2 separate regions of the Homo sapiens genome follow, and region 1 is linked to region 2. Evidence: promoter capture Hi-C in human tissues and cell types (Jung and others, 2019). All regions are on one chromosome and are shown on one strand. The core of a region is centred on a gene start or on the middle of the fragment in contact, and the rest is flanking DNA. Distances in the headings are between cores, read along the strand shown.

Region 1 (3,847 bases), core at 996-3,495, 38 kb before region 2:
GGATGAGACCAAATCCTGGGCTGACACTCTGATCGCAATCTTGTGAAAGACTGTGAAGCAGAGGATCTTGTCAAGTTGTACCTGGATTTCTGACCCACAGAAACTGTGTACAAAAAAATGTATGTGCTTTTAAGCCATTAAGTTTTGGGGCAATTTGATATCCATAATAGATAGCTAATACTTCTCTATGCTTTTACCTGCTAGTTTATAAACACCATGAGGGCAGAAATCTCTATTTTGTTACTAATGTATCCTGATTACCCTGAATAGTGCTTGGAATTTAGTAGTTACTTATATTTGTTGGATGAATGAATTAATGAATCACTGAGTTAACGAGTGATGCCCTTGGATTAATGAATTAATGAATGAATTAATTGTTGGATGAATTCATTCATCCAACAACAGTTGGTGGATGAGTGAATTAATGAATCACGGAGTTAATGAGTGATGCTCTTGGCATCTAGCATAATTGTAGCTATCAACAGTGCATAAAGAATTATAACTTTTTCTACAATCATACAATACTTTCCATTTTTTGCAATGAATGTTGCTAATTTGTAATAGATTTTCCAAAGTCAACTTTGATAACTACATGAAAACATTAAAATTATTTACATTTTTGCCAATCTCCTCAGTTTTCATTAACAAAAATTTAATAGTTTTATTTTTCAAATCTAGATGTTTGAAAATAAAAGATACTGCAAGATTTATATAATTGTTTATATCTAATCTTATGCGACTTCTCTCTGGAGCCATGTCTATTTTAATGATATGGAATTAAAGAGATAAAGTCATTAATTTAAAATTGTCATCACTCCTGCCATCCTATTCTTCTACATATCTAAATTTAGAACACCCTAATATTGGCTCAAATTCCCATTTCTAATGCCAGACTTTGTAGTAACAGAAATATATCAAAGAAGGAAAAGACAGGCAGCTCTACTGTAGCTTCATTGTCTTGATTGAAGCAGGTTTTACAGACACCAACATTTCGAATTGCCCATTTTTGACACCCCAGAGTTTTTATTACACCTTGGGAAAATGCACCACAGGAAGAATCAGGAGAAATTAAAGGTGTATATTTCTTTCTGTACAGTGGAAAAAGTAAGGCTGTGAAAGGAGAAATAGAAATGGACAACCTGGTTGAAGTAGTGAGAAATGAATTTCAGCAGAGTACTCTCTGAATATATGTGGGAGCCAAGGATTTGGGAAGCGGTTCCCCTAAAACTGTCTGTGTCCTTGTACCTGTTAGAAGGTCTCTGTTTACTCCAGTTTTCAGACATCTAGCCTAACCAGCTGAAAAATGTTTGCTTGGGGTTGGAGTGAGAGCAGAGAAGAGCTGAGGAAAAAAGTGACTGTTTTTGTGGCACTCTGGGCTGACTTCTTTCAAGTTAATTATTTTACACTATTATGGCATGGAGCTGAGTGAAGAAGGTGTTTGTCATCCTCAGGGGCTATGATATTTGACAGTCATGGATTCTATAGATTTAAATATACTTGCATATAAAATGGTGAAATAAGCTTACACCATTGGAAAATGCCTAAGGGTACAAAAGCAGGCAAACTGGAGAGACAGCCAAGTGACTGCCTTTTACATTTTTCAACCACAATGAAAAATCAACTTTCTTCAGAGTACCAGGTTGAATTCCACCATTTGGAATTATGCTTTTTCCTTTTGTAATGGAGCAATAGTTTCACCTATCACTAATTCCATCTAGGAGATTATCATACAAGAATAAAGAGGCCACATTGCTCTCTTGCTCTTTATGTATTTTTTTCTTTTTTTTTTTTTTGAGACAGAGTCTTGCTATATTGCTTAGGCTGGATTGCAACTCCTGGGCTCAAGGGATCCCAAGTCACTGGGACTATGGGTGCATGCCACCTTGCCTGGCTTACGTGTGAGTCTTATTATATTAATATTTGGTGTATGTAAAATGTATATAAATTAAATTTGTAGAATGATTGAGTCAGAGGGGGTGTTTAATTATATTGCACATAAAGTAGTGTGGCATCCATTTTTCAATCTTTGGTTCCCAAGGAACTGCCAGTAGCATCTAGCAGAGGCCATTGGTAGCTGATGCACTTACTTGTGAGCATATAAAACTTCTCAGAGGAGAGCCAGAAATTTTAACATGTTGGGGGGAAGGAAGCTAAGGTTCTGCTGAACGTGTAGAAAAGAGCAAGTTCCTGTGACATTTGGGTTGATGATGACACCCTATCTGCCACTACATTCCAATGTATGTAGGGGACAGGGGCCAGTGGAAACTCAGGTTACATAAAAAACCCTTAGTTCTTGGTGAGCAGCAACTGGTGAAACCCCTTCTTTTTTCCCTACTAGTTGCCTCTTGAGTTACCATCCCCAGTGCCTTCCCACTTTCAGAAAAGGCTAGGGCTGGAAATTACTCATTTGCAATAATTCTGGTTGAAGTGAGCCTTTCTCTCCTTTTTTTTCCCCCAAAACAAGAGTGAATTTTCTGTCTAAACCCTCTGATGGACACATCGATACAGATCACCAGTCTTCCTGAAAATCATTTGAAGGAGAATTGGGAGGGAGGTCCCCACATGACGTCAGGAGAATGGTGAATGCAGGCTGCCTGGTGCCTGGCCTCCCTCCTGGGACAGAAGTGGCACTCCCTCCCACATGTTTCCCCAGCTTCACCCTGCCCTCCAAACCCAAGGCTGGCAGGTCACCTAGTTAATGTTTACAACAAAAACCTGTTGAACAGTAGGAAATTCCCACCTCCCCCCAAATACAAAAGCCTTTCATGCTGAAACCCCCCTCCTGAATTTCTCTTGGGCAGAGAACACTAGATGTATTACCTCAAATAATCGCTGCTGAGATGGAAGTTCAGCTTCTCAGGGAAAATATTATTAGCATTTATGTCAGGAAAAATAAAGTTCTGAGGAAGACCCTAGAATTTTAGGGCAAGCGTGTAGCACTAAGAAGGTCAGTGGATCCCAGATGCCAGTATGGATCTTGGACTCTTTGAACACAAACCAGCTACAAGGTTGGCCATGAGATGGGTCCACAGAACAGCTAAATATTCAGTGGAGGACTCAGTTCAAGCAGCTTCTGAGAATGATCATCCTGTCAGCTCTTTTGTGACAGGCAATCAATCATTAACCTCTCCTAACCACCCTGGAAGAATGTTTTGGAATTTTGATTAAATGTGGTTTATGTTGGCAATAAGAGAAAGAACTAAGTAAATGTTTGACATTCAGCCTCTGCTCTGGAGAATAAGAGGTGATGGAAGACTCTATTGAATAAGCTGTATTTTATTTTGATTTGTTTGATAAGAATGAAAGAACATGTCCCAGGGGGACCCACATCCCTTCTTTCCTGTGGGGAGTGTCCTAGCAGACCCCACATAGGCATCCTTGCTTCTCCACTCTGCTAGGACTCTAGAGGTGATTTTTGGCCTCAGGGGTTATAAGTATCTGGGGCATCAGTGGACAAATGAATATCTATTAGAGAACTTTTACCTGTAGGTCATGCTTCCATACAGGCAATATCTGGAGAGCGAATAGGTAAGGTTTCAGTGCACAGAAAAGATGATGGCTAAAATATAAATTTGATATTTTGTTCACTGATGTATCCTAAATAATTAGAAGAGTGTTTGTTGAATGAATGGCTCTACTCACATCAGGGACAGCCTGCTAAGACTGGCTGGGTGATTCACATAGTGGTTGCTTTCCGGATGCACTGCTTTTGCATCTTCTGGGCCATGGTTCAACTTTATCATGACTCAGGGATATGGTCCAGGTATCCAATCTCCAGTACAGTTCCAATACCCAATCTCCATAACTCCCCCCAGTATGTCTCTCTTGCCCCTCATCTTAGCCTTCT
Region 2 (4,149 bases), core at 939-3,438:
GGCCTTGGTCCAAATGCAGTGATGAATTTTATGGCAAAGAAACTAGGCCCTTGATCTTTTATGCTTCTTGTAATTGGAGATCTGCAAGGTGCATTCTCATGGGCCCCCACAGTTTTCCAGGAATTCAGAGCAGTGTTAGAATCCAAGAGAAAGGGGTCAGAGATTAACCCTCTCTCCTGACCTCCCTGAGTTTGCATCATAGGCCTGAGTAACAATTTTTGTGCTGAGAATTTTATAAGCACTCATAGGAATTACTTCTTGTAGAGTGTTGTCAATGTCTGTGGTGGGCATGGCTACCCTCCTTGGAATAGCAGAGAAATGGTGCTCAGCCTGCCTCCTGAGAAGCATTTTCAGAGACTTGAGCTCAAGGCTTTAGAATTTCTATGTGAAAGAGGCTTTGGAGTGTAAGGGGCTTATATTCCATGGACATATCCCAATGACAGGAATACTGGAGGCTCCCCAAAGCTTCATGTGGTATAGCCACTTTCTCTAGAGTTCTACAACATTTCCTTTTAGGCCTCAAGGCAAGAAATGATTCATTGTCCTTTATTTCTTTTACAATAGAGCTTGATTGTCCACCACGAAATACCTATAACACAGAGCACAGAAACCAAAGTCCTGGGTGTCATTAGGATTCTTTTAGTCCATAGTAGAGAGGTGGCTGTCTCCTCATAAGAAAATTGGGGTGATTTTAGGATGCGGCCTTGATAGCTAGGCTGCCAAAAATACTTATAAATATTTATTATAGGCCTTTTAGCCAAGGATAGATGTGGGGCTAATTTATGGAAACCTCTTGTTGAAATAACAAGAAATAAAACATAAGTCTTAGGAAACTTATCAGGAGACTCTACAATATAATAAAATAATCTGATTATATTTCTGTCTCCTCTGCCAGATGGTAAGCAGTTTGAAGGCAGAAACTGTGTCATACTCTTTAAAAATATAACTTTGAATTATCTAAGTGATTCATATCATTTTTATAAAAATAAAAGTTACTAATAATGTTGAAATCTCCTTTACCCCCAAACTAGTCTTCCCCCTCCTTCCCATTACCCACATGCCAGGCACACAAATGTGGTTCAAATGATGCTTGTTGACCTGCATGGAAGAGATCCAGAGTGGAAACTGAGAGAGGTTCAGCAGGCAGGCAGGGTGGTGGGGTGACTGACCCCCTACCTGCCCCAATCTGGCCAAGCACCCTCTCTCTACACCACTAGCTTCAGGGCTACAAAAATTTTTCAGCTTGTCACGGGTTGCCAAACTGTGATATACAGCAGAGTTGATGTAAACTTCCACACTTTCTAGAGGATAGTTTTACTACTGTCATCAGAGTTGTGGTCGTATTTCCATGGCTTTAATCTGGTTTTGCTGGAGATGCTTCTCCAGGTCTACTGCTGGTCCTTGAAGGTGGAGACTCAGGGCTATCAAATTTTACCAAAATGACTTCTCCCTCAAAGGAAAGGGAGAGGATAGAAGATAAGGACGTCTTCTGGTCAGGTATCGCCAGACGTAGACAAACATGATCAGGAATTGGGGGATGTGAATCAGAATGGGCAGTGGGACAGGAACAGAGAAGTCAGACATGGACCAAGTAAGAAGGTGTTGTTGACCTTCCTAGGCCCACCAGTTCAACCGATGACTGAGGCCCATGGTCTGGGTACGACTGGAGGGTGATGAGTACAAGTCAAGGACCTCCTCTTGGTTAAAAAAGCAAGGTCAAGAGGGAGGATGAGGAGTAGAAAAATGAAGAGAATCAATCAACCCTTTCTCAGCAAGACTTGGACCAAGTTACTTCCCTTCTGTACTTCTTTAGACCCATACCCCTACAGTGGGTATATGAATAACAGCCCATAACCTGGTATTTACGAGTCACTCTTCGGGATGAAGAGTGAGAGACTGTTCATGAATGGGGATCTGCCCTCTAGTGGTCCTTTCTCTTGAGCCCTCTGTTCAATCGCTGATTTGCTGGCAAATTCTTTCAATGTTGAATGCCTGTTTGTCTCACTGGGTGGACTTTTACTTAAAATTCTTATCTGGGGCACATGCAGTAAGTGGAGAAAAATGTAAGACACTTTTCCTTTGGTCATTACTAACAAGCCCTGAGGAAAAAGCCTGAGTGGCTTATGTTAATCATTAAACTTACCCATGGTCAGGTCTGAACTTTTACTCTGGTACACATTTGGCTGGGACACAAACGAGTTAGGTGAGTTATAGTCTAACGTGAGTGAGTTACCTGCGTGGTGGCTGCAGGCTGAGCTCTAACCAGATAACATGTCCACGGATTCTTGACAGAGAGAAATAAGATCACTTAGAAAGAAAGGATCATTTCTCCCTTGAGTCACAAGGAGACAGAAACAGAAAAAAAAGGTACTGTTTGATCCAGAAAAGTCTCTGCTCTCTGTTTTCTAGGTGTTGTATCTCTTGTTAACGTTCTGGTGAACAAAAGGAAGAAATGGGAGATCTATAGTAGTGCCTTGCAACTTTGTCCCTCGATGTCCCAAAGGAGAAGCTGAGAGGGAAGGGAGGAAGAAGGGAAGAGGGAGTGAGAGCAGAGAGAGGAGAGAGAGAGAGGAGAACAAAAACATGACTAAATAAATGCACACAGCTCTCCTCTGTGGTTGAAAAATTTTAGTTATGAGAAATAAAGAGAGTCTGAGTTTATTTTTAGGAAGAATTAGTGGATAGACTAATAAAAAATTACATTTATAATTGACATGAAAAAGATGCAGTTCCAAATGTAGGGTTTTAAGAAAACCAGTGTGCGAATGTTTATTTCTATTGTTCTGAGCTTGGGAGTAGGCATTAAGAAGAAATGTTAAAATCACGTAGCCAGATTGAAAATAGACTCTCCTGTGCTGAGTATATTTTGTCTGTGTAACAAGCAAGTCAGATCTCATGCTTTTGGACTAAGCAGCAAATACGCTTGGGTACTTTTCCCTATGTGGTAGATGTATTCTGAAAGTTGTATATTTATAAGTTGAATTCTATTTCAAATAGACGTAAAAGTTTGGGAATTTTGCAACGAAAAGGAACACTTGCTGAATCCACTTGAAAATACTAGAATTCCTTTCTTAAATCCAAGTAGCCTCCACACTTACCCTATCTGGTAATGACTCGGGGGCAGGTACATAGATTGTTTGTTTTCCCAACTTTTAGTATAGTGCTTAGCACGTAGTGGGCATACAATAAATGTTTGCAGTGTTGAATTAAATAGAAATGATTATAGATTTCCAGCTGTCTCAATCAGAACATGCCCGTAAGGTGAGTTTATTGCAAAGTTTTTGCAGATTTTTTTTTTGAGGGGGGGAGTATATTGTAGCTTTTATATTTTCAGAAATGATGTAACTACTTCTGCTAATCTCAGTGTTTTCTTAAAAATATAAATTAAATGGCCAGGTGTGGTGGTTCATGCCTGTAATCCCAGCACTTTGGGAGGCTGAGGCAGGGAGATCACTTGAGGCCAGGAGTTCAAGACCAGTCTGGCTATCATGGTGAAAACCTGTCTCTACAAAAAATTCAAAAATTAGCCGGGTGTGGTGGCGCACACCTGTAATCCCAGCTACTCAGGAGGCTGAGGCATAAGAATCACTTGAACCTGGGAGATGGAGGTTGCAGTGAACTGACATCATGCCACTGCACTCCAGCCCAAATGACAGAATGAGACCCTGCCACACACACACACATACACACACACTTTGTGTGTGTGTATGTGTGTGTGTGTATGTAGGTATGTATATATATATTAAATATATTTATATATTTATATGTAATAAACATAAACATAATTAAATATATATTAAACGTGTATTTAGTAGTACATGTGGGTGTTTAATTCTGTAATTTTCAAACTTTCAGAAAATTTCAGAGGCACTATTTTTAAGAGGATTTTGTCGATGCCCTCTGCCATGAGGTGCTGGAGAGCAGCTCAGCACTTTCCTTAGAGCAGGCATGAGAGTGAAAGCTGTTCATCTCAGATTAGGTAAACCCAGATTTAGGGTATTCAAATATGTCTTCATCCACTCCAATGTACTGAGCGCTGTGTGGGACCTTCACACTTTCACACTAGGAAGGCTGTGGAAATAGAAGACTGGTTCCTGGGTCTCTTCAAGGAACGTGCCGTCTGGAAGAAGAGGCCTATGTGTGCCACAT

The links. The method cuts DNA at HindIII sites, captures the fragments that hold promoters and counts their contacts. A contact is called where the count stands out against the background at its distance.
Region 1: a fragment that was not itself captured here is called in contact with the fragment with the promoter of PKHD1 in region 2 in 2 of the 25 tissues and cell types used here (H1 embryonic stem cells and thymus).

What each region holds. Positions count from the first base shown.
Region 1 is chr6:52,124,172-52,128,018 of GRCh38, reverse strand. No RefSeq gene overlaps it. Among named protein-coding and RNA genes, the nearest start is that of MIR206, 18 kb to the left of the region's middle. The HindIII fragment of the contact is 6,917 bases long and covers 1-3,847 here.
Region 2 is chr6:52,085,652-52,089,800 of GRCh38, reverse strand. It overlaps PKHD1 (PKHD1 ciliary IPT domain containing fibrocystin/polyductin), which reads left to right and starts at 2,188. Exons shown (of 67, transcript NM_138694.4): 1 at 2,188-2,367. The HindIII fragment of the contact is 13,504 bases long and covers 1-4,149 here.